Linked DNA regions of Homo sapiens: all the other regions are linked to region 4. The links are contacts of gene promoters, found by promoter capture Hi-C in blood cells and fetal thymus (Javierre and others, 2016). All regions are on one chromosome and are shown on one strand. Each heading gives the region's core, a stretch centred on a gene start or on the middle of the fragment in contact. The rest is flanking DNA. Distances are from core to core; before and after follow the strand shown. Region 1 holds the start of CREB3L4 (cAMP responsive element binding protein 3 like 4). Region 2 holds the start of DENND4B (DENN domain containing 4B). Region 3 holds the start of SLC27A3 (solute carrier family 27 member 3). Region 4 overlaps HAX1 (HCLS1 associated protein X-1). Region 5 holds the start of GATAD2B (GATA zinc finger domain containing 2B).

Evidence for each region. Contacts are between HindIII fragments. The CHiCAGO score rates a contact against its expected background, and 5 or more counts as called.
Region 1: a contact is called between the fragment with the promoter of CREB3L4 here and a fragment that was not itself captured in region 4, in 2 of 17 cell types (naive CD8 T cells and fetal thymus). The highest score is 6.1, in naive CD8 T cells.
Region 2: a contact is called between the fragment with the promoter of DENND4B here and a fragment that was not itself captured in region 4, in 7 of 17 cell types (total B cells, total CD8 T cells, naive CD8 T cells and 4 more). The highest score is 7.0, in total B cells.
Region 3: the fragment with the promoter of SLC27A3 here is called in contact with a fragment that was not itself captured in region 4 in 2 of 17 cell types (naive B cells and non-activated CD4 T cells); the score reaches 6.0 in naive B cells.
Region 5: the fragment with the promoter of GATAD2B here is called in contact with a fragment that was not itself captured in region 4 in 5 of 17 cell types (fetal thymus, total B cells, total CD4 T cells and 2 more); the score reaches 6.6 in fetal thymus.

The regions. Positions count from the first base shown.
Region 1 is chr1:153,964,564-153,969,151 of GRCh38, reverse strand. CREB3L4 (cAMP responsive element binding protein 3 like 4) reads right to left here and starts at 1,250. Exons shown (of 10, transcript NM_001255978.2): 1 at 988-1,250; 2 at 453-630; 3 at 1-222. The coding sequence starts at 626. It also overlaps a transcript of SLC39A1 not described here. RefSeq lists enhancers at 984-1,103, 1,134-1,243, 1,454-1,673, 1,108-1,964 and a silencer at 992-1,493. The HindIII fragment of the contact is 4,469 bases long and covers 189-4,588 here.
Region 2 is chr1:153,943,531-153,948,141 of GRCh38, reverse strand. It overlaps DENND4B (DENN domain containing 4B), which reads left to right and starts at 1,424. Exons shown (of 28, transcript NM_014856.3): 1 at 1,424-1,841; 2 at 3,745-4,084. The coding sequence starts at 3,768. It overlaps CRTC2 (CREB regulated transcription coactivator 2), which reads left to right. Exons shown (of 14, transcript NM_181715.3): 14 at 1-467. The coding sequence ends at 33. RefSeq lists enhancers at 853-922, 1,734-2,234, 2,703-2,752, 3,073-3,172 and a silencer at 1,313-2,212. The HindIII fragment of the contact is 4,483 bases long and covers 1-3,217 here.
Region 3 is chr1:153,773,971-153,778,406 of GRCh38, reverse strand. It overlaps SLC27A3 (solute carrier family 27 member 3), which reads right to left and starts at 3,000. Exons shown (of 10, transcript NM_024330.4): 1 at 2,243-3,000; 2 at 1,680-1,889; 3 at 1,187-1,345; 4 at 522-646; 5 at 52-246. The coding sequence starts at 2,909. It overlaps INTS3 (integrator complex subunit 3), which reads right to left. Exons shown (of 30, transcript NM_023015.5): 30 at 3,599-4,436. RefSeq lists a silencer at 2,373-2,564 and an enhancer at 1,933-2,599. The HindIII fragment of the contact is 7,576 bases long and covers 1-4,436 here.
Region 4 is chr1:154,273,582-154,278,550 of GRCh38, reverse strand. It overlaps HAX1 (HCLS1 associated protein X-1), which reads right to left. Exons shown (of 7, transcript NM_006118.4): 2 at 4,953-4,969; 3 at 4,590-4,777; 4 at 3,550-3,601; 5 at 3,291-3,397; 6 at 3,068-3,158; 7 at 2,676-2,935. The coding sequence ends at 2,850. Among named protein-coding and RNA genes, the nearest start is that of HAX1, 3.4 kb to the right of the region's middle. The HindIII fragment of the contact is 1,134 bases long and covers 2,787-3,920 here.
Region 5 is chr1:153,919,817-153,924,400 of GRCh38, reverse strand. It overlaps GATAD2B (GATA zinc finger domain containing 2B), which reads left to right and starts at 1,429. Exons shown (of 11, transcript NM_020699.4): 1 at 1,429-1,668. It overlaps LOC101928059 (a long non-coding RNA gene), which reads right to left and starts at 1,028. Exons shown (of 4, transcript XR_922160.3): 1 at 439-1,028. RefSeq lists silencers at 354-648, 1,326-1,645 and an enhancer at 956-1,195. The HindIII fragment of the contact is 8,959 bases long and covers 1-3,075 here.

The sequences.
Region 1 (4,588 bases), core at 1-2,500, 310 kb after region 4:
ATTTGGCCCAGTTTCCCCCTGCATCCTCTCCAGGGCCCCTGCCTCATAGACAACCTCATAGAGCATAGGAGAACTGGTTGCCCTGGGGGCAGGGGGACTGTCTGGATGGCAGGGGTCCTCAGAGATGCCACTGTCACTGCCAGGAGATGCTTCTGAGCAGTACACCTCATTGGGATCAATGAAAAGCTTCAAGAAATCTTCAGGCTCACTCTCTTGAAGGCCCTACAGTAGGAAAAGGTTATATATATGTGCAGGGAAGAATTTTGGAAGTCCTCCCTGACTTATGCTTCATTTTCAGTCCTTTCACTTCTTGGGCATGGAGACAGTTATTATACAACTTACGTCTATTTTGGGGGTGGTCTGTTTTCAGACCTGTCTCCAAGTGGGAGCTGAAGCCTCTTATCACAGAGTTGTGTCTCAACCCCACCCCCACTCCCACTCGTCACACTCACACAGCCACGGTCCCCACCGGACTTCCAGCCTTGCAGTCCCTGTTCCTGTAGCCTAGTTACCGGAACCTCTGGAGGGGGGCAGTGGAGTCCCAGCTCCAGGACGGATCCTGTCGAGAAGATATCCTCTGGGGGCTCCAGCCACGCGTCCAGCAGGTCAGGGATTCCGAGATCCATGCTTCTGCAGGAAGGCGTGTGGGACGGAGGGTTGCAGAAACGGAATGATGGCTGCTTACTACCCCCTACAGTTTCTGGGCTCCTCTGCTCCCTTTTCCATTATCCCCGCCCCCCCACTCCTTCCTCACTAGCAAGCCCCCTCACCTGTCCCCTCGATATTTCACCTTCAGCCCTATCCCTCAGGTTTAGACAAAGAGGCCCCCCCCAAGCATTACCTGTTCTGAAGAGCCCAGCCCTGTCAAGCCAGCATAGCCCGTTGACCTCCCCAAACACTACACCTTTTCTTTCTTCCAGGATCTCGTATCCTGGACCTGCCAGCCAAACCCCGCCCCCAGCCTTACACTACAAAAGTGGATGCCACCTTGCCAGGAGCCACGGTAGGGCCGCTGTATCTGGGAGTAGGGGACTAAGAGTCTGAGGGTCCACAAACGGAATTTAAGAAGTAGGTAGCCGCGCCCTTTCTGCTGCAGTTTTCTCTTAGCTATAGTAAATCTTCCTGAGGGTTTGGTGTCTCCTAGCTGAAGAACAGAAAAGGCTGTGACTGGAGCACAGGACTCCTGAATGCCTGTTCTGTAGCCCTCGCTTTTGCAAGAGGGAGATCATGGCAGGGTTGTAAACAAAGGCGGAAAGAGTCAAGAGACCTGCGAATTTACTAGGGCATCCCCTCGCCCACCGCGTGGCGCTCTTCCCAAAGCTGAGTCCTGATTGGAAGCTGAAGACTTAGGTTTCGGAGGGGCAGGACATCGAGCCAATGGCACACTACCCTCTCAAGGCCGCCTCTTCCGTAACTGGTCGGAGACAGTTTGGCTGTTCAGGAGAGTCAGGCCAATGGGGCCGCAGTTCTTTCTTTTTTTTTTCTTTATTCTTATTTTTGGAGACAGGGTCTCGCTCTGTTGCCCAGGCTGGAGTGCGGTGGTGCGATCACGGTTCCATGCAGCCCCCGACCTCCCGGGCTCAGGTGATTCTCCCGCCTCAGCACCGCGAGCAGCTAGGACCACAGGCGCGAGCCACTGCGTCCGGCCGGCGGGACTTATTTGTCAGGCGGGGATTGGGTTCCGCCAGCCTAAAGGGAGGGGTAAGCGCCAGAATATGAATCGCCGGGAAGCTGGGAGAAAGCTCCGGGAAACCCTGAGCAGCCAGGTTTGTCTTCGCGCGCCACGTGACTCGGAAGCTCCGGTTTCACCCAGGCGGGGAGTCAACAGCCCGCTGACCCCAGTGGAGCGGTGATCCTCGCTCGGCAGGCGGCAGGAGCGCGATGGCGGGTTTCCCCGTCCGCAAGCCGAGCAGTGTGGCGTTAATGGAGAACAGCAGCTGTGCGCACACGCTCGCTGCACGCTGCTCATTCACGGAGGGACACGGGGCAGGAAAACTGCAACAAGTTAAAAAGCCTTTTGCGTTTGTTGTCTTATTGTTTGCATACAGTTACCGGGAACATTATGTCCCACACTTGTATAATTTACAAAACGTTTTCATAAAAATTGTTCTCTTCCTTAATCCATAACAGTTCTGAGGCACACACGGCGGGTAATATTTTGCAAATTTTACCTATGAGGAGGCAGATCCATGACTAGAAAGTAGTAATACCAAAACTCAGGGTTGATTGATTATTTTTATTTTTTTGCCTTGGTCTAATGTCTGATGGTCCAGGAATTCACTTCAAGTAAAACAATGGAGGTAAACTGATACAGGTATGGTTTTCAGTAGTATTTCAGAAAAGGGTAGCTGGGTGAGTAAAACAGTAGTTTGGAGTGTGAATCCCAGAACTCAAACTGCTACTAATTATCCTTATGAAGATTTGAACGGGCTAAGGGTAAAAACGGGAACAGGGTCTAGTCAGGCATTTCCATGTTACTCATATAATTCTTACAGCAGATGGAGCTGACAAGTTTGTTTGTTTGTTTTTCTTTTGCTCTGTGGCCCAGGCTGGAGTGCAGAGGCTCGATCTCGGCTCACTGCAAGCTCCGCCTCCCGGGTTCACGCCATTCTCCTGCCTCAGCCTCCCTAGTAGCTGGGACTACAGGCGCCCAGCTAATTTTTTTGTATTTTTAGTAGAGACAGGGTTTCACCGTGTTAGCCAGGGTGGTCTCGATCTGACCTCGTGATCCGTCCACCTCGGCCTCCCAATGTGCTGGGATTACAGGCGTGAGCCACCACGCCCGTCCGAGCTGACAAGTTTAAGTAACTTTCTCAAGGTTACCCTGTAAGTAGCTGAACCAAGATTTGGATGCTTCAGCCCATGTTCTTCACACTATCAACCCACCTTGTGGGGCTTTCTCAGATTTCTTATCTGTCTTTCCCGCTCATATCTCTCCATCCTGCTCAAGTAGTGAAGAGACAAAGCAGCCTTCCTAGATTGATGCAGAGCTCCAAGGAAAGCAAAGCTGTTCTTGTTGAGATCATTCTGAGAGCGAGAAAGGTGGTTAAATACATTTCAAAGGGCTTCCTGCGGGCTGTATGTGCAGAGATGATTTGAGTGGGGAATGTAGTTAGCTTCCGTTGATGTTAGAACTGGAAGGACCCTCTGCAGTCATCTGCTTGTTTAACTTCCTCCTTGCCCCTGATTTATCAAACTCTGGTGAGGAAAACTGACTTGCCTAAAATCATACATCAAGGTAAGGTAAAATTGAGGAGATCTATTGGGCCGGGTGTGGTGGCTCACACCTGCAGTCCCAGCACTTTGGGAGGCTGAAGCGGGTGGATCACCTGAGGTCAGGAGTTCAAGACCAGCCTGGTCAACATGGTGAAATCCCGTCTCTACTAAAAATACAAAAATTAGCCGGGCGTGGTGGCGGGCGCCTGTAATCCCAGCTACTCGGGAGGCCGAGGCGGGAGAATTGCTTGAAACCTGGGAGGCAGAAGTTGTAGTGAGCCAAGAGCATGCCACTGCATTCCAGCCTGGGCAACACAGCAAGACTCTGTCAAGAAAGAAAGGAGGAAAGAAGAAAGGAAGGAAGGAAGGAAAAAGAAAAGAAATAAAGTTGCCAAGAGATTTTAAATGTTCTCATCACAAATAAATATGTGAAGTAATGCATATGTTAATTAGCTTGATTTACCCATTCTGCAATGTACATATATTTCTTTTCTTTTTTCTTTTTTTTTGAGACGGAGTCTCGCTGTGTCGTCCAGGCTGGAGTGCAGAGGTGTGATCTTGGCTCACTGCAACCTCCGCCTCCCCGGTTCAAGCGATTCTCCTGCCTCAGCCTCCTGAGTAGCTGGGATCATAGGCATGCGCCACCACGCCTGGCTAATTTTTGTATTTTTAGTAGAGACAGGGTTTCACCATGTTGAGCAGGCTGGTCTCCAACTCCTGACCTCGTCATCTGCCCGCCTCGGCTTCCCAAAGTGCTGGGATTACAGGCGTGAGCCACCGCGCCCGGCCCAATGTACATATATTTCAAAACATCATGTTGTACACCATAAATATATACAATTATTAATCATATATGACATATGTATGTGTATAAATAAACAAATATATATATTTGACAACTATAAAGGTAGAACTTGGACCAGAATCCAGGTTTCCTGACCCCCCCAGTCATAATTCCTTGTTAATGTTACCAATTACGAATAATTTTTTTTTTTGAGACGAAGTTTCGCTGTTGTTGCCCAGGCTGGAGCGCAATGGCGCGATCTCGGCTCACTGCAATTTCCGGCTCCCGGGTTCAAGCGATTCTCCTGCCTCGGCCTCCCGAGTAGCTGGGATTACAGGCCCCCGCCACCACGCCCGGCTAATTTTTGTATATTTAGTAGAGACGGGGTTTCACCATGTTGACCAGGCTGGTCTTGAACTTCTGTCCTCAGGTGATTCATCCTCGGCCTTCCAAAGTGCTTGGATTACAGGCGTGAACCACCGCGCCCGGCCCCTTAAGAAGTCTTCACATTCCTCTTTTACTTAAGGAATTACTGGGCTTCGTTTCTGGAGCCTTGTGAGAAGCATTACACTGTCCCCCCTTTTTTTT
Region 2 (4,611 bases), core at 175-2,674, 330 kb after region 4:
GAGGAGTCATTCCGCAGTGACCGGCTCCAATGAGGGCACCTCATCACCATCCCTCTTCTTGGCCCCATCCCCCACCACCATTCCTTTCCTCCCTTCCCCCTGGCAGGTAGAGACTCTACTCTCTGTCCCCAGATCCTCTTTCTAGCATGAATGAAGGATGCCAAGAATGAGAAAAAGCAAGGGGTTTGTCCAGGTGGCCCCTGAATTCTGCGCAAGGGATGGGCCTGGGGGAACTCAAGGGAGGGCCTAAAGCACTTGTAACTTTGAACCGTCTGTCTGGAGGTCAGAGCCTGTTGGAAAGCAGGGGTAGAGGGGAGCCCTGGAAGCAGGGCTTTTCCGGATGCCTAGGGGTGGGCAGTGCCAGCCCCTCCTCACCACTCTTCCCCTTGCAGTGGAGGAGAGAGCCAGAGTGGATACTATTTTTTATTAAATATATTATTATATGTTAATAAAAAAATCATATCAAACCCTTGGTGTGGTTAGTTATTTGGGGCATGGCTGGGGATCTAGGGAGTTATAGGGCCATGGGTCTTTTTATCTATTAGGCTTTTTGCATCTTCTTAGCACCACTGTGCTTTGTGGAAGGGCCCCACAGCCTCGGAATTTGTACCCAGCTGGATGTAGGCTTCCACGGCAGCAGGAAATCACTTCATGTGCCCTCCTGTCTGTCCAGGGCCCTGCTGCAGCATCAGATGGGGGCTTTGACTGATCAGACAAGTTATTCCTCTTCCTCAACCCTAGGTCTGGCAGTGAGTCGGGTAAGGAGGTGATTGCTGGCTGAGCCCACAGGTCTGAAGTGCTCCTAGGTCTCAGGGAAGCAAGCCTTCATCCTCACTCCCTCACTATGCATGCATTCACTTCACCCTCTCCACTCTTCACCACTCATTCATTTTAGTTTTAATTAAACAGATCCTTCAGTGCCATGCATGTTCTGAAGGTTTTCTCTTTCTGGATTGGGTTGCCAGCCCTTGGACCAGCCGTGTGGGCCTCTGCACCCCTCACTCCCCCAACCCGCATAGTGAGAAAAGTAGAGCCCCGCAGTTACCTTACCCCCACCTCCACTGCTCTATTCCACACCCTGCAGTCCTGGCCTCTCTTCCTCTTTCCAAAGCTCTTGTCATTTTCAAAAAAGAGAACTGAGAGCTTCTGGTTCTGGTCCAAAGGGAATGCCCTGTGCCCTAAACCTGGAAGTAGGGGGAGCCACCTGGGTCCCCGTAGACTAGACCTTCGGGACTTCACCTGCGCCCACATCATGCTTGCCACATCTGACTGCAGGACCCAGGCGGGAAGGGAGCGCGCCGCGGCCCTCTGGGTCGCCTGGGGTCAGTGTCCTGAGGCACGGGCTGGATGGTGGGAAGCTACCTGGGTGCAGGGGGCCCTCCCAGCCGCCAGGGGTCGGGCTGCAGGCGGCTGGGCTTTGGGCAGACGCTTGCCAGGGTCACGGCCGCCGGCCGAGGAGGAGGGGTGGGGGTAGCGGCGGCGCCCGCGGCCCGGAGCGGGGGTTGGGGGAGTAGAGAAAGCGGGGCGCGCGGAGGAACGCTGGGTCCCCGGCGCCGCGGGAGCTGGGAGGACCGAGCCGGCCGAGCGAGCAGCGCGGCAGCACAGTCCCCGCGTGGCGCAGCGCGGCGGGGACGCGGGGACCGCCCGGATCTCCTTCCACTGCGCCCCGCGCTCTGCGGTCCTCGGCCGCCTCTTCTTCCTTCACTCACTGCCCGGGCGGGAGCGGCGCCCAAGTCGGGTGCGCCATGTCTGGGGCCGGGTAGCCCCGCCGCCCGCCGGCCCGCCAGCTCGCCCTCCGAGCCACCCGCCAGCGGGCCGGCCGGCCGGGAAGCGCGGGACAGGCAGGTAGGGGCTGGACCGGGCTGGGCGGCAGGCGGGGACGGGCAGGAGGGAGCGCGGGCGGCAGGCGGGGTGGGGGATGGCCCCCAGCTGCTGTCCCTCACTGCACATCTGGTTCCGGTTCCTCTCTCCTGGGGAAGTGAAAGTGGAGGGGAGGGCACCTCCCGCAATTAGCTCGCCGTGCCCGGCCTCCTGCACCCCCTTCTGCTCCCGTGGGTGCCGGAGTCGGAGCCGCCCTCCCTCCCGCTTGGGTCACGCGGCGGCCGGCGCTGCTGCCGTCACGTCCTCGGCCGCCGGCGCGCCTGCTTCTCTGCCCTCCTGCTCCTTCCTCAGCCTCCTCCCCCTCGGCGCGCCCTCTGCCCCAACCCGAACTTCCCGTCACCCGGCACGCGGGCGTGGGGACCCGGAGTGGGCCCTGTGCCCGTTGTCTTCCCTAGGGAGAAAGGGCTGCTTTCTGCAGGACTCTTCCCTGGCTTGGTGAGGGGAGGCCCCGGTGCGCAGGTCCTGCGGATGGGTGCCACCCACTTGCCCCTCAGAAGGTCCCACCTAATGGCCTCTGCCTGCTGCCTTGGGCATAGGGCTCCCATTCGCCCTCAGTGGATGAGGGACAGGTCTGTGCCCCAGAATTAAATCAAGAGGCTGACGCTGACTCCTGGCTTTACCTCCCAGAAGTGGAGTCTAAATTTAGCTGGGGTTGGTGTGTGTACGTGTGTGCGTGTGTGTGTGCGTGTGTGTGTGTGTGTGTGTGTCCAGAGGCCAGGTGATGAAGAAAGCCAGCCTGGCTCTATGAGATTCCTTATTCCCTGTTCTCTGGGGGAACAGCAGGAGGTTAGCAGGACTGCACATCCTGGAACCATTCTGAGCCTCCTCTGCCTTGCTCAGGATCCTATAGTCTGAGATTCCAACTTGGCGTAATGCTGTGCTGGCACCTTCAATGGTAACCCCACCACCGCCACCGCCACCACACACACCCATAGGCTGACTTCCTCTGAGTTGCAGCTTCCCCTCCACTGTTTCAGGAAGTAACCTCCCTTCCCCTCTGAAGCACCCCCCACGCTTCTGGGCCCCTGCTGCGAGCTACCCACCAGGCTTTTTCCCAGCTTCTGCACCCTGGGGCGCCTCAGGACCCTTGGGGCTCCTACTCCCCGGGGTTGGGCCATGGAGGCAGGTGAGAACTAGGCTGTTGTGGGCCTGTTTCTGTCTCTGGGCTCCATGGTGGAGGGTGTGGGATGGCCGGGACTTGTCTCTCACAACTGCTTTGGATCTAACGAGCTACCTAAGGATCCTGGAGGTGTGAGAACACTGGATTTTGGGCCAGATTGGTGGAGTTAAGCTAGGAGAAAGGACACTTGGGTTCGTTGAAAAGACTCTTAAAGCTTGGGTTTTGTGGGCTTTCTCAGAAACCCATGGGGTCCTCTTAAAAACCTAGGAGTGGGCTCTTTAAGAACATTGGCAGGATCACAAGGTTCTTATGGTGTCATAACTAGAGTAGGAAGGTCAGAAACCCTTGAAAAGACTGTAAGGTTGGTATGATGTCATGGCCAGCATGAATGATGTCATGGAAGGCTATTACAAAAAAGATTGTGATCTCTGTGATGTTATAACTGGTGAGCCTTTAAAAGGGACACATGGACAATGTGAATGTCATAGCTCAGGTTAGCTGTGTGTGGTGGAGTTTAGGTTCTTTGAGGGGAGTGCCAGGACCATTAAGTGGGAGGGATCTGGTCTCTTTAAGAAGCTGTGGTGGGCAGTGATGTCACAGGGGGAAGAGTTCAGGATTGGCCGACCCCTTATCCTGCCTTTCTTTGGAAGGACTAGGAAGAGGAGGGGAGCAAGAGGGTACCCTGGTTGCCATGGCATCCCCAGCCTTCCTTGCTTCATCTCTCTCCCACTTGACCATTCCAGATGCAGTGAGTGAGGGGGGGGCCATGGCGGAGGAGCGGCCCCCCCGGCTGGTGGATTACTTCGTGGTAGCTGGGCTTGCAGGGAACGGAGCACCCATCCCTGAGGAAACGTGGGTTCCTGAACCCAGTGGGCCCCTGCGCCCTCCCCGGCCAGCTGAGCCCATCACAGATGTGGCAGTCATCGCTAGGGCACTGGGCGAGGAAGTGCCCCAGGGCTACACATGCATCCAGGCTTCTGCTGGGGGCCACCCCTTGGAACTCAGTGCTGGACTTCTGGGTGGAACTCAACCCGTCATCTGCTACCGCAGGGGCCGTGACAAGCCCCCCCTCGTTGAGCTGGGGTGTGTGCCCCTACCCATGCTGGCACCAGGGGAGGCTGGGAGGGACTCCAGTGAGACAGGGAGAGGTAGGACTATGGAACAAGGGAAGGGCAATGGGGATGGGAGCCTGGTGGGCCAGGGGCCAGGAAGGAAGGACTGAAGTTGTATGTACTTAGTCCTTACAGATGCGATTTCATGTGCTAGTGCTGCTCCTTGCTAGCTCTGAGAGCTTAGGCAGGTTTTTGAGCTCCTCTGGGCCTGTTTTCCTCATCTGTCAAATGGGGAAAATAATTCATCCTCATAGGATGGTCGAGATTAAATGAGATAACCCATGTGACAGACTTAACAGAGTCAGTCAGTGGTAGCTTGTATAACTATTTTTTTTTTTTTTTTTTTTTTTATAGACAGAGTCTCTCTCTGTCACTCAGGCTGGAGTGCAGTGGTGTGATCTTGGCTCACTGCAACCTTCGCCTCCTGGGTTCAGGCAATTCTCCTGCCTCAGCTTCCTGAGTAGCTGAGACTATAGGCATGTGCCACCACGTCCAGCT
Region 3 (4,436 bases), core at 1,751-4,250, 500 kb after region 4:
TGCCAGCCCTCTGCTGTTCCACGGGTTTTCAGTTTCCTCTCTGCCCCTCACCTTGTAAAGCCAGGAAGCACGCCCCACAGCGCCCCGCTGTCCTGTGTAGTTGATGGTGGCCACGTTGCCCTCTGTCAGTCCATATGTCTCCAGCACCTGCAGGGGCCCGAAGCGCCGCACAAAACGCTCCCAGGTATCTGGGCGCAGCCCGCTGCCCACTGCCAGCCGGACCTTATGGCCACGTTCTGCCTTGCTCTGAGATGAGTGGGAGAGGGGCCGGAGCTTCAGCATCAAGATGCCCGCTCCCGGAAGTGAATTCCTGTTCCCCATTCCCCAGAACCCCCTCCTACTGTGACCTCCTTCAGAGGCCGTAAGCATCAGATGGCCTAGGCCATCTCTGGCTCCTTATCTTACACTGCCATTTTCTTCTTGCTGCTTCTCCCTCCAACTCCCTGTCTCCTGTCAACTGTCCTGCTCCCCGTGAGCTAGCCCTGTGTCAGCAGCTCTGCCCAGGATCTGTGCCCACGCACCGGGGGCTGGTTGACAAGGTATCGGCACAGCTCCCCAATGTACTGGAACACCGTCACCCTGTGCTGCTGGCAATCTTCCCAGAACTGACCAGCCGAGAACTTGGATTTCAGCACCACTGTGGCCCCTGCCAGAAGTGGGCAGGGGGGAAGAAGGGAGGTAAGATTAGGAGCAGAGTGGGGAGCCCAAGCCCCTCTTTCCAGACCCCAGCCATCACTGTAGTCTTTCCCTGGGAAGGGCCCACTGTGGGAGTCACACCGTCAGGAAGCCGTGCTGGCCCTCTTTCCCCTCCCCCGGCCCCTGTCCCCAGCCTTAGAAGAGGTGAATGCCCTTTCCCTACTTCCCAGCCCCAAAGATCTCATCCTCCACACTCTCACTTCCTTGTCTCTCTCTCCCTCTTCTCTTACTTGCCTGTTCCTGGACTGACACAGTCCTTCCCTGCCTTTGACCCTGCAGCCTGGAGTTATGTGGCTGTATGGCCCCCCTCACCGTTCCTCAGTCTGTAGGTCTAGGCAGGTGACATTGCCCTATTGTACAGAGCTCCTGGTGAGTAGGGCTCTGCCCCATCCGTCCTCTAGATTATCTACCCTGGAGGACTCACACCATAGTACGTGCTTAATAAATGTCTACTGGATGAATTAATGAAGGTGGGGTTGGGGAGACTGACCAATGCCCATGCAGCCCACGATGCCCAGCAGGGAACCGGACATGTGGTAGAGTGGGAGGGCGAGGTAGATCACATCTTCCTGGTGGACACCACACAGCTGATAGAAGCCCTGGCATTGCAGGATCTTCAGATGACTGATCCGAGCAGCCTTGGGGAGGCCTGTGGGGTGGCAGTTATGGGACGATCAGGGGAAGGGCAAACTCCAAGCTCTACCTATCTGTTTGCACCCCCGCTGGGTTTCCCACAGAAAGAGGCGGAGGCAGGACAGAAGCTGAGGACCGAGACCAGGCTGTCCTGGAAATATGGGTGGTCTGGGGGAGGTGGAGAAATGAGTAGGAGGTGAGGAGACTGGGGAGTGAAATGATGGGGAGAAAAAGGATGTGCCAATGAAATCAGCATCCTCTCTGGGGGCTTTGAAGGAGTGGTCTGGGAGCAGACCCCTGCCTTCCTCTGCCTTGGTTTCGGGGAGCTAAGTATGGTGCCCGGCCCTCACCCGTGGTGCCAGAGGTGAAGATGTACAGGCACGTGTCTGTTATGCTCTGGGGGGAAGAGAGGTATCCTGGCACTGGCCCATCCACTTCAGCGGACACTTCAGCCAGCAAATCGCTAATTCCAGCAGGGTGGGTTCCTGGGCCTGCAGCCCACAGGTGGAGCCCCATGGCTCTCAGGGCGGGCAGGTCCGGCTCCAGGGACTCCAGAAACTCTAGAAGGGTGGGAAAGCACAACGCCGGGGCCCTGGCTCTACCTAGAAGAGCCTATGACCCATGTCCCCTCCCTATCCCAGCCCACACTGCTCTTGGATGAGGGTGAAGGGTATGGACATTCCATCTTGGGTCTGAGGCCTGGAACTCGACTCCTTGGGGATCCTTGGGGCACCAAAGATTCAGCCTCATCCCTTCTCAAACCCGGAGACTCCTATCTCCACCCACTTTCGAACCCCAAGGGATAGTCGGCTTCTTCCCAGGCCCAGGGATGAGACCAAGCCTTTCTGTGGTCTCCGACACGCCCCCTTCTGTGGCTGGCCCCGCCTTAGTCAGTTCGGAGCTCCAGCCTTACCTGGCGCCAGCACCAGCGCGCGCGCGCCGCAGCTGCGGAGGCAGTGCAGCAGGGGGCCCCGGCGCAGGGCGGTGGGCACAAAGGCAGTGCGCAGGCCGGCCTTGGCCAGCCCGAACCAGAGCCACAGAAACTCTGGGCCAGCGGGGAGGAGCAGCGCCACAGTTGCTCCAGGTGACAGAGGGGCGGCGGCTCCTCCACCTCTGGCGGCACCGTCCCCTCCGGCAAACTCCGCGCCGCTTCCGGCCGCTGCATCTCCGGCTCCCGGCGCTGCCCGCTCGCCTTCTCCAGCGCTCCCCTCGCCGCTGTCGCCGCCGTCGGGTCCCCAGTCCCAGCCTAGCGCACGTAGGAAGGCGCGTGCAGCCCTGTTACTCTCGCGCTCCGCCTCTGAGTAGCTAAAGCGCCGCGAGCCGTGAATGAGAAAGGTGTGCGCGGCGCGCTGCTGGGCCAGTTCCGCGAGGCGCCAGGCCAGGCTGCAGCCCCCCTCGGGACCTTCCGGGTCGGCGGCAGCCGCGGCCAGGGCGCGAGCTCGAAGAGCCCTTTTGCAGCACAGAGCTCGCACCGCAAAGGCCAAGTCCGCCGGAAGCCAGCGCAACTGCGGCCAGAGGTGTAGCTTCAGCAGCAGCAGCGGTAGCAACAGCAGCAGGGGCAGCAGCAGGAGGGCAGCCATGGAGCCCGCTTCCTCTATCGGCACCGTCTGGTTCCAGCCGCTCGCAAACATCCCTGATCCTCCCTTCCGAAAACCTAGGGCCGCTCGTTCTAGCTGAGACTTCTCCTTCCAGGGAGCGCGCGTGCGCTGGCACACGCCCATTCCCACCCAGGCCCCCACCACTCCACACGGGCGGAGAGCAGAAACCCGGGAGGAGTGCGGGTGTGGGGCGGCCCCGGACTCCCAGCCCTCCCCCCACAGCCTACGCTCCGCCCTAGGCGCGCTCCCTCCCGGACTGCTCGCGGCTCGCACCCTACCAGGTCCTGGGCGGTGCTCGCGCCTTCCCTGAATCCCAGGGTTATGTCTGTCTTCTAAGTTGTTTCTCGGCTTGGGCGGTTTAGGCATCTGGCTAAGCCCTAGAGTCCAGGCCTGAGAGCCAGGGCGTTTGGATCGCAGTCCATCTTCCCCTCAATATTTCTCGTTTTCCCGTTAAGGGAAGGTACCATTGCTCTCTCCCAAAAGAATGAACTTGGCCCCTGGCCCATTTGGTTCTGCAAGTCCCGGCCTGCCAGCCGCAACCCCAGGGGATGGGTGGGGGCTGAGAGTTAAATAGGGGAAAGGTGGAAACCCAGACTGCCAGATTTCTGAGGGGTCACGACAGAGGCCCCTCCCTTTGGGCAAGGGTACAATAATTGGGGCCAGCCAGCAAATGCTCTCCATCCTGGTTTTAATTGGGACAGAGGAAACTGGGGAAGGAGAGAGGAAGGAAAAAGAAGCCTCCAGTGGTTTAGACTTTCAAAGGAAGCAACAGCAGTGATGAGGGAGGGGAGAACCTGGATTCTGTAAAAAGACAAATTTTCGGGGTGAAGAGGAGCAGCTCTGTGCAGTTCGCCCAAACTTCACTCCTCAGTCCACCTCCATTCTCCCTGGACAGCGGGGGAACAACAGCATAGCCAAGGAACTCTCCTCTGCTGGTTCACATGGCCCAGCAAGTGGCCACACTGTGGAAGGAAGAGCATCTCTGTCCCTCCCTGGTATCCAGACTTTATCTCCAGGTACAGTTGTCCCTGGAGACCAAGCTGGAGCATCCCTCCCGTCAAGCAGCGAGTCCTCCGGCCATTCTTGGTAGGCACACAGACTTCAACTGGAGGATGACAGACCTTTTGGAAGCATCTTGTTTCTTGAGAAATGAGTAAGGACAGGCCTCATCCTACGGGGGATGGTTCTGCATAGACAGATCAGTGCCTGGCTCCCACCTCCAGTGGCAGCAGGAAGGATGGGTAGTGGCCAAAGCCAAGTCCCTTCTGCTCTAGACAAAAGTGGGGGCAGAACAGGAAGGGAAAGGGGGATGTTCTGCGGTTACAAGTAGGGGTGCCAATCAAATCAAGACCAAGCTATACATGCACGGGGCAAATGCCAGCAGACACTCCAGCACAAAAGACATTCTGGCTTGTTTTATTGTCATTTAAAAACAACTTTTAAGACACGATTATCTCTGCCAAAAAAAAAACAAAAAAAAACAAAAAAAAAAACAGACTCAAGGAAATG
Region 4 (4,969 bases), core at 2,104-4,603:
CTGGGATTACAGGCGCGAGCCACCACTCTCGGCCTTTTTTTTTGAGACAGTCTCACTTTGTTGCCCAGGCTGGAGTGCAGCAGCATGGTCATGGCTCACTGCATCCTTGACCTCATGGGCTCGACAACGTCCCACCTCAGACCCCTGAGTAGCTGGGACTACAGGCATGCACCACCATGCCCAGCTAATTTTTAAATTTTTTTGTAGAGACAGGGTTTCCCTATGTTGCCCAGGCTGGTCTCAATTGATCCTCTCCGCTCAGCTTCCCAAAGTGCTGAGATTACAGGTGTGAGCCACTGTGACTGGCCCCAGATTTGCCCCTCTTAACCACAGTACTAAAAGCTTTTGTTGTTGTGATTGGGTCTCACTCTGTCGCCCAGGCTGGAATGCAGTGGTGTGATCATAGATCACCGCAGCCTCGAACTCCAGCCTCCAGGGATCCTCCTGTTTTAGCCTCCTGAATAGCTGAGACTACAGATGTGGGCCACCATGCTCAGCTAATTTATTTATTTATGTTTTTTGAGATGGAGTCTCGCTCTGTCAACCAGGCTGGAGTGCAGCAGCACAATCTCAGCTCACTGCAACTTCCACCCCCTGGGTTCAAATGATCCTCCCGCCTCAGCCTCCTAAGTAGCTGGGATTACAAGTGTGCACTACCACACCCAGCTGATTTTTGTATTTTTAGTAGAGTTGGGGTTTCACCATGTTGGCCAGGCTGGTCTCGAACTCCTGACGTCAAGTGATCTGCCCACCTTGGCCTCCCAAAGTGTTGGGATTACAAGTGTGAACCACAGTGCCCAGCCTGCTTGAACTCCTGACCTCAAGTGATCCACCCGCCTCAGCCTCCCAAAGTGCTGGGATTATAGGTGTGAGCAACGATGCCCAGCCTGCTCAGCCAATTTTTAAAAAATATTTTGCGGGGCGTGGTGGCTTACGCCTGTAATCCCAGCACTTTGGGAGGCTGAGGCAGGCGGATCACAAGGTCAAGAGATCGAGACCAGCTTGGCCAACATGGTGAAACCCTGTCTCTACTAAAAATACAAAAATTAGCTGGGCGTGGTAGCACGTGCCTGTAGTCCCAGCTACTCGGGAGGCTGAGGCAGGAGAATCACTTGAACGCGGGAGGCAGAGGTTGCAGTGAGCCGAGATTGCGCCACTGCACTCCAGCCTGGGTGACAAAGCGAGAGTCCATCTCAAAAAAAAAAAAAAAAAAAAAAATATATATATATATATATATATATTTTAGAAATAGGATCTTGCTATGTTGCCTCCGCCTCCTGGGCTCAAGTAATCCTCCTATCTCAGCCTCCCAAGTAGCTAGGATGATAGGTACAGTCTAACACACCTGGTTAAAAACTTTTATAATGAGAAAAGGAAGCCTGGGCAACATGGCAAAACTCCGTCTCTACAAAAAATACAAAATAATAATAATAATAAAAGGAAAAAAAACGAGAAAAAAAATTAGCTAGGCATGGTGGTGTACGCCTGTAGTCCCAGCTACTCAGGAGGCTGAGGTGGGAGGACTGAGCCCAGGTCGAGGCTACAGTGGGCCAACATCGCCCCCTACACTCCAGCCTGTGTGACAGAATGAGACCCTGCCTCAAAAAGAAAAAAGGACCTAGTAACGTTTGTGCCAGGTGTATTTTCTCTAACATACATAACAATTTTTTGAGATGGAATTTCGTTCTTGTTGCTCAAGCTGGAGTGCAATGGCATGATCATGGCTCACTGCAACCTCCACCTCCTGAGTTCCAGCAATTCTCCTACCTCAGCCTCCCAAGTAGCTGGGATTACAAACATGTGCCACCACATCTGGCTAATTTTTGTATTTTTAGTAGAGACAGGGTTTCACCGTATTGGTCAGGCTAATCTCGAACTCCTGACTTCATGTGATCCATCTGCCTCGGCCTCCCAAAGTGCTGGGATTACAGGCGTGAGCCACCACACCCAGCCACATAACAACTTTTTAAGGCCAGTAAAGTAAGGGAAATTTACCCATGTGCTTCCCCAGTTACTTCATGAACTCTCCAGTCAGTGATCCCACACTCAGGGAAGCAGTTAACCCCTACTTCCACACCCACACCCTTTTTTTGGGAATCTGATGTATCCCTCTCTAGAAATTTTCCTGAAATTATTTCTAGTCATCTCCTCAGTAAGAAAAATCATTTTTCTTTTTCTTTTCTTTTCTTTTTTTTTTTTTTTTTTTTTTTTGAGATGGAGTTTCACTCTTGTCGCCCACGCTGGAGTGCAATGGCGTGATCTCGGCTCATTGCAACCTCCTCCTACCAGGTTCAAGCGATTCTCCTGCCCTAGCCTGGGATTACAGGCACCCGCCACCATGCCCAGCTAATTTTTGTATTTTTAGTAGAGACAGAGTTTCACCACATTGGCCAGGCTGGTCTTGAACTCCTGACCTCAGGTTATCTGCCTGTCTCAGCCTCCCAAAGTGCTGGGATTACAGGCATGAGCCAACGAGCCCGGCCTCTTTTTTTTTTTTTCTTGCTTGAGAAAGAAAAATCATTTTCTACTTGTGCCTGACCCTTACTTATGAAATCAGGTTTTAGATGCAGAATAAAAAATTAAGGAATAAGGAGAAGGCAGAGGACCAAGATAATTTCGGAAGTGTTGGATGGTTCTAGAAACTGAAATAGCCTTGACAAAACCAAGACAAAAAATTAGCATAAATAAAGGTTTTATTGGTCAGTTTGGGTGAGTGACAAACTGACATGGCCCCAGTTCACTATTCCACATATCCAAGCCCCTGAGGTGGCAAGAGAAGCTAAGCTTATTAATGGTGGGCAATGGGTGAGAGGTGGAAAGGACTTGAAGGCCTCTGAGGGTTAACAAGGCTACCGGGACCGGAACCAACGTCCCAGGAATAAGTCCAGGATGGAAAAGGCATCATCCAGGGCTGGAGGTCTTGGTGATTCTGGATCTAAGGAAGAAAGTCATACACGTAAATAGGCTAAATGAAAGAGACTAGGCAGAAGCAAAGGACAAGGGTAGAAGAGTAAGATTTCCCTTCCCCAAGGAATCTTGAGATGAACCCCTTTGTCTTTTAACTTACCACCCCTAGGACTGCTATCTGCTTCGTGTCGGGTTACTGTAGTCTCTGTCCGGCCCTCACTGTCCACCACAGTCCGGCGCTCCTCCACTATCTACAAAGAGAAGTCCCCACCATATTCCGAATGTTACTAAAGGTTATGCTCAGCAGTTTCTTTACACAGATCCCTGTTTCAGGGCATTCGTTCCCTGGCCATACTTTCCTTTACCTCTTTCTTTCAACTCACCCCATCTGGTTTAGTGATCTTGGTCACAGAGATGCTCTTGAAATAGGATTTGGGCTGGGGCTGTAGAACCGGGCCAAGACCCTCCTGGGAAACCTGGGAATCAAGATCTGGAAGAGCAGAGAGATGAAGAAGCAGGAGAGAAAGAGTCCAAAGGAAAAAAGGAGACAAGTGTACAGGAAGAAACTTCAGGGAGGGAGAACACACAGAACTTCAGAAGAATAACAAAAGGCTGGTAAACTTCCCCTTCCTCCAGACTTACCATTGTCCTCTCTGGTTCTAGGATGGGGGTCCATAGGCCATACATCATCAAACTGCAGAAGAAACCATAGTAAGTGAAAAGACTCCTTCCAATCTGAAATTTGAAAGGTCATAGACCTCAAACTACTCCCGAGCTCCAAAACCCCCTTCCACAGAAGAGATAATTCCATTCAGAATAGCCTTATTTACACACTCCTTCCTGGCTGTTTTATGTATCCTTCTACCAGAAAGACTTCCTGAACTGATATATTCCTATCCTCTGTGCACAATCCTGCCTTATCCAAGAATTATCTAGACCAGTGGTGTTTTTTTGTTTTTGTTTTTTAAAAGAAACAGAACACCCATCTCCCCCCAAAGAAAATCCCACAAGCTTAATATAGAAAACAGAAAACACTAAATGGAGGGCTTAGGATTCCAACCCAAGGCTATCAGATTCAAACAAGAATTGCAATCTTTGGCCAGGCATGATGGCTCACACTTGTAATTCCAGCACTTTGGGAGGCCGAGGTGGGTGGATCACCTGAGGTCAGGAGCTCAAAAGCAGCCTGGCCAACACGGTGAAACGCCATCTCTACTAAAAACACAAAAATTAGCTGGGCGTTTGGCAGGCGACTGTAATCCCAGCTACTCAGGAGGCTGAGGCAGGAGAATCACTTGAACCTGGGAATTGGAGGTTGCAGTGAGCTGAGATTGTGCCACGGCACTACAGCCTGGGCAACAGAGCAAGGCTGGGTCTCAAACAATTTTTGAGATGGAGTCTCCACCTCCTGGGTTCAACCAATTCTCCTGCCTCAGCCTCCTGAGTAGCTGGCATTACAGGCACCTGCCACCATGCCCGGCTAATTTTTTGTATTTTTAGTAGACACGGGGTTTCACCATGTTGACCAGGCTGGTCTCCAACTCCTGACCTCTGGTGATCTGCCCACCTCGGCCTCCCAAAGTGCTGGGATTACAGGCGTGAGCCACCGCACCTAGCCAGTCTTTGCACTTTATTAGTGGTCTCTCACAAGCTCTCACTTCAGGACCAGATGGGATACTCACCCTATGAAATGGCCTCTGGGAGCCCCAGTCTGGTGCTGGTTGGGGGGATTCACTTCTTGCATCACTCTCCAAGACCCCCCCAAAGATCCTGGGCTGGTGACTATCTGGATACTTAAGCATTGAGTCCCGAAGTGTCTGTCCCTCCCGTAGTCTCTCACCAGGTGTCTCTGACTCAGGACCTGGAAGTTCTGCAGAAAGGTGGCAGGTGTTTGCTGGGATGGGAAAGGACTTGGGCTCTATTAATCTCTCTGAAATCATCAGTCTTCTCACACTTCCCATCCCCCAGCTACTCCCTGCAGGCTCTTTATTTCACCCACCAACCCACCAGAAACCACAGGTTGCCCCTTAGGGAAAGCCACACACCAGGAGGATGGGAAGGC
Region 5 (4,584 bases), core at 180-2,679, 350 kb after region 4:
AGGCAGGAGGATCACCTGAGGTCAGGAGTTCGAGACCAGCCTGGCCAACATGGCGAAACCCCGTCTCTACTAAAAACACAAAAATTAGCCGCGCGCCTGTAATCCCAGCTACTCGGGAGGCTGTTGAGGCAGGAGGATCGTTTGAACCTGGGAGGCGGAGGTTGCAGGAACTGAGATTGTACCACTGCACTCCAGCCTGGGAGACACAGTGAGAAAACAACAATAACAAAATGCCTGTGGAACCAGTTGTTTCTGGGTTTAAACCACTGCTTAGTCACTAACTAGCGGTCTGACCTTTGGCAAGTTACTTAACCTCTCTGAGCCTTAGTTTCCTCATCTACTTGGGTTCAAATTTCAGCTCTACCACTTAACGTGTAACTGGACAAATTTTTTGATCCTAATTTTCCTCATTTGTAAAGTAGGGATAACAGTACCTACCTCACAGTCATGAGGAATAAATACTTCATGTAAAGTTCTTAGCACAGAGCCTGACACAGTCTCTTTCCAAAAACGTTAACTACTATCATAACCTTAACACCCGGACTCTGTTACTTGGTCCCTATCCTCAAGGTGCTCCAGAAACGCTCGCTGAGTTTAGGCGGGCCTAACTGCTCCGTGGAAGCAGGGAGGCCAGCAAAAGGAGCTGGCCCTTGAGTTAATTAGGTGGAATCGGGCGGGGTGGGAGGCTGTTTCCTCGCTGAGAACCTAACCAGACCAGGAGTTCCCAAGAGAAGGAGCTGCGAGGGCTCTGCACACCGTAATTCCTCAGCAACTTGGCTAGCTGCTTTTTTTTTTTTCCTGCTGTCGTGGTTTAGTCACGACAGGACCAAGCGGAGGTACGATGAACACCAGGAAGCTCAAAGCCTTTGGCAGACGGAGACAGGCCACACCCCAAAAAGACGGCAAGGCTCAAGCGCCTAAAGCTAGTTCTATCGTGAAATTTCCTAGAGTCTGTCGCGACGAAACACCGCCCACCGCAGACCCCATCGCCGTTCGCCAGTCTCCATCTTTAGAATTGAAAGAATGAGAGATGGCCAAAGGGGAATCCCGGTTTGGAGAGACTGGGGTACGGCGGCTGCCTGGGGACCAAAACGTCTCTAAGGTAAAGTTGCAGCCTGAAGCGATTTTTTGACCCCCGACACTTAATGGGCTGTCGAAGACCCGGATGTGTCTGGGACTGGCAGAGGTACCCATTAACGCGCCCCCGCTAGACCATCCCCCCTCCTCCGTTTATGATTGGGTTTTAAGCACGCCAATCATCACTTCTCCGGCCACTCATTCTTCAAGGGTGGGGTGAAGTCCCGGCATCTAGTCTTCTACTGGCATGGCCGAGAAGATGAGGGCGGGGTGGCCGGCTTAGGTCGCCCAATGGGCGTCGTGGCGTGTGGGTAAGGCGGAGCCGAGGCGCTTGGCAGCTGCCCAATCAGCGTCCTTGTTTGTGTGGTGCCGCCGCCGCCGGTGCAGCCGTCGCCGCCGCCGCTGCCCCCGTCTGTACCGCAGTGTCTGCTCCGCCCGCCCGCCCCGGTCCGGCCCGCCCCCCTCCCCTACCCCCGTCCCTAGTCCCGTCAGCAGGGTCTGGATCCCCTGTGCCGTCGCCTCTTCCTTTTTCGACGCCTCCGCCGCCGCCTGAGGAGGCGAGCTAGCCGGGAGTTACACCGCCACCGCCAGGTGAGGAGCTTTGGCCTAGGCCAGCCTGGCCGCCCGCCCGCCCGGGGGCGGTGAGGAGCGAGGAAGGGAAGGAGGCTGGGAGGAGGCAGTGGTGGCGGAGGTGGGGGAAGGGAAAGGTGGAGGGGCGGGGGGAGGGGAAGCGCCCGCGAGCCGACGCCCGCCCGCGCGCCCCCGCCTTGCGTCCCCCTCCCCCCACCCCGGCACGGCGCGCCCCCGCCTCGCGCTCCTTCTTCACCTCATCCTCTCCCCCCTTGGCGCGCGCGACCCGGTCTTTCACTTCGGCCTCGCGCGCCCCCAGCTCGTGTCCCTTCATTTCGTCTCCTTGTACTCTTTCTCCCCTCCCTCACGCCCCGTTTCCCCCGCCATCCCCGCTTTCACTCCCTGCCTCATGCCCGCCATGCTCCCCTCCTTTCCTCTCTAGCGCGCCCCCCCCTTTTTTTTTTTAACTCTCTCCACCCCCAGTGGTGCCCTCAGGGTGCGGGGGCCGCTCCCTGCTCAGTCTTGTGTTTGCGGGCGGATGGGACGAATGGGGAATCTAAGGGTAAAGGAAGCACCAGATAATTATCTTTATTTAGGGAAAGGGATCAGGAGCGCATAACCTTACCCCTTTATTTCGTCGTCCACCGTTCGCTCGCCCTCCCGTAGGGGAAGAGAATTGTCTCAGGCTATGTGGGCACTTAGCTTCTACAGCGACTGGGCTTGTGGGACACACTGGATCTGTCTTCCAGTTCAGTTCCTGAGGGTCGGTGGAACTTACCCTTCCCTAACCACACCGGGACTTAGAGTACTTTTGGCCTCCCTGCTCTCAATTACATTGAGGAGCGAGCCACTCATGCGAGTGCAGAGGTTCAGGTGCCATTCGCGCGCCCGGTACAGCTTTCCCGTTTCATAAAGGTATGGTAGCCTCTTTGGATTCTTCCCCAGCATCAACTTCCAAACACAAGATGTTAGCTCATAGGGCTGGCAGTGAGGTGGAGATGGAGGCTTGGTGGTGGGTGGCATGTGGATGCTAACTGAGCTAGCTAGCAACCTTTTCTCTGTTGTCCCCTGGAAAATCAGGTAGCCTCCTGAGAACCAGTTTTCTCATTTCTGATAAATGCTTATTTGGGGGGCGTGTGTGTGTGCGTGTGTGTGTGTGTAAGAGAGAGAGAGAGATGGGGGGATACTTAATACATTTCAGCAGAGGCGAAGGATACTTAATATATTTCAGCAAAGGGCAAGAGCAGTGTTTTCAGGCCAGACTGCAAAAGAGGGATTTGGATTTGTAGCTGATGGAATTAAAACAGGTTTAACAGATCTGTGTTGGAGAAGAGCTGATGCTTTTGTAGTTTTTAGGACATTTTTTCTAAAAATTTATATTTTGAGTAGAAAAGCATGCATGTGGTTGTACAAAGTGAAAAGTAAGCTTCCTTCCCATCTCTGTCCTCCAGCCATCTAGTCTCCTTCCCCTCCTAGCACAGATGACTTTGATGTTTTCTGGCAGCAGCATGGTGCCTATATGTTGTTGGTGATTATCCTGTTTGGGAGTTTAGTGCTAACTTTATTGCTTTTCATTTGGTATGCTGACCTGAACTCTTCCTTGCAGTCTGATAACTTGGATTCTTATTTTGGTGCTGGAGCAGCCTTTCAAGTATTGTCCTAGAGTAGTATTTCTGTCAGTACTTAGTTGGGAAGGAGGCCACTTCTGGAGGTGCTATGGAGGAGTTCAGTATATTTTGAGGGAAGGCCCACACTTGTTGGATCGTGCTGCTTTTTTTGTGACGGATATCTAGTCCCTGGCCATTTGGGAATGGACTGGGTCAAGGATCGGATTCATATAAGCAGATAGCTTATATGAATAACTAGTTGATGGTAAGGCTGTCTTCACTTTTTAGGGGAATAGAGTTTTTTTAGTCCAGTGGCAGTGATAGTCATCATGGAACAAGGTAGAAAAGTACTAATCAGCAGGAATCAGAAGGCTGAATCTATAGGCTGAGTGACCCAGTTTGAGTAGAGGTGAGGCTTACAGACTTTTGTCCTGCCTATTATTCCTTACTTGAGAACACTCTCCATGAGGTGAGAGTGATTTGTAGTTGACAGCAGCATCCATCTTTATGACACTGTGGTTTGCCTTCCCTGACCGTATGTGATGTGTGTTAACTTCCTGTTTAGAGGCAGTCCCAGTAGGGTCTGAATATAGGCTGCACTCAAATACTTTTCTAGGAACAGTGTTAACCAGGTTCCCTGATCAGCCCTTCAAATCTAAATTCTGGCAGTAACTTTTACTGCTGTGCTTAGCATAGGGCCACAGGGTGGTGGCAGAGGGAAGTGTGAGGAATTTGTTCTGAGCCTCACAACCTTAAAGTACTTTCAAAAGCTTGTATGCTGTCCCCCATTTTGGGGTTTTGCCCCCTTCTCCCCTTTTTTTGCCAGACGGGCAAGGCTGGACCTCCAGGTTGAATTTTGGGGACCATTGTGTCAGTGAAGGTATCCTAATCATGTGTTGAGACCTCTGAATTCATCTCACCTTTAAGCAGTGAGTCTTGTGTGTTGCATGTAAAGCATTCCTCCTGTTTCAATTTACTGATTCTTCTTCCTTTCCTCCCCCACCCACCAAGCTGGAGGTGCATGTGGAGGAAAACAGCAGCTGTGCTGTCCTGATTTCTAGACTCTGGAGCATATTCCATGTTAGCCACCCCATTGGGAGTCATGCTGACAAGCAGCCCCTCTGCGCTTAACTTAGAAGGCTCATGTTGCTTGGCTCATTGAGAAAAGCCAACCAGCTTTGGTTGATTAAAACAACTGCTAGAGAAATCGTAAGATTTGAGCCATAACTGGGACTGAGGGACTTTCTTTTCCAGACCTTTGCAGTACTTAAAGCCCTGCATTATTACATATCAAGGCACAATAGCCAGACATTTTCTGAGGTAGTTTGGA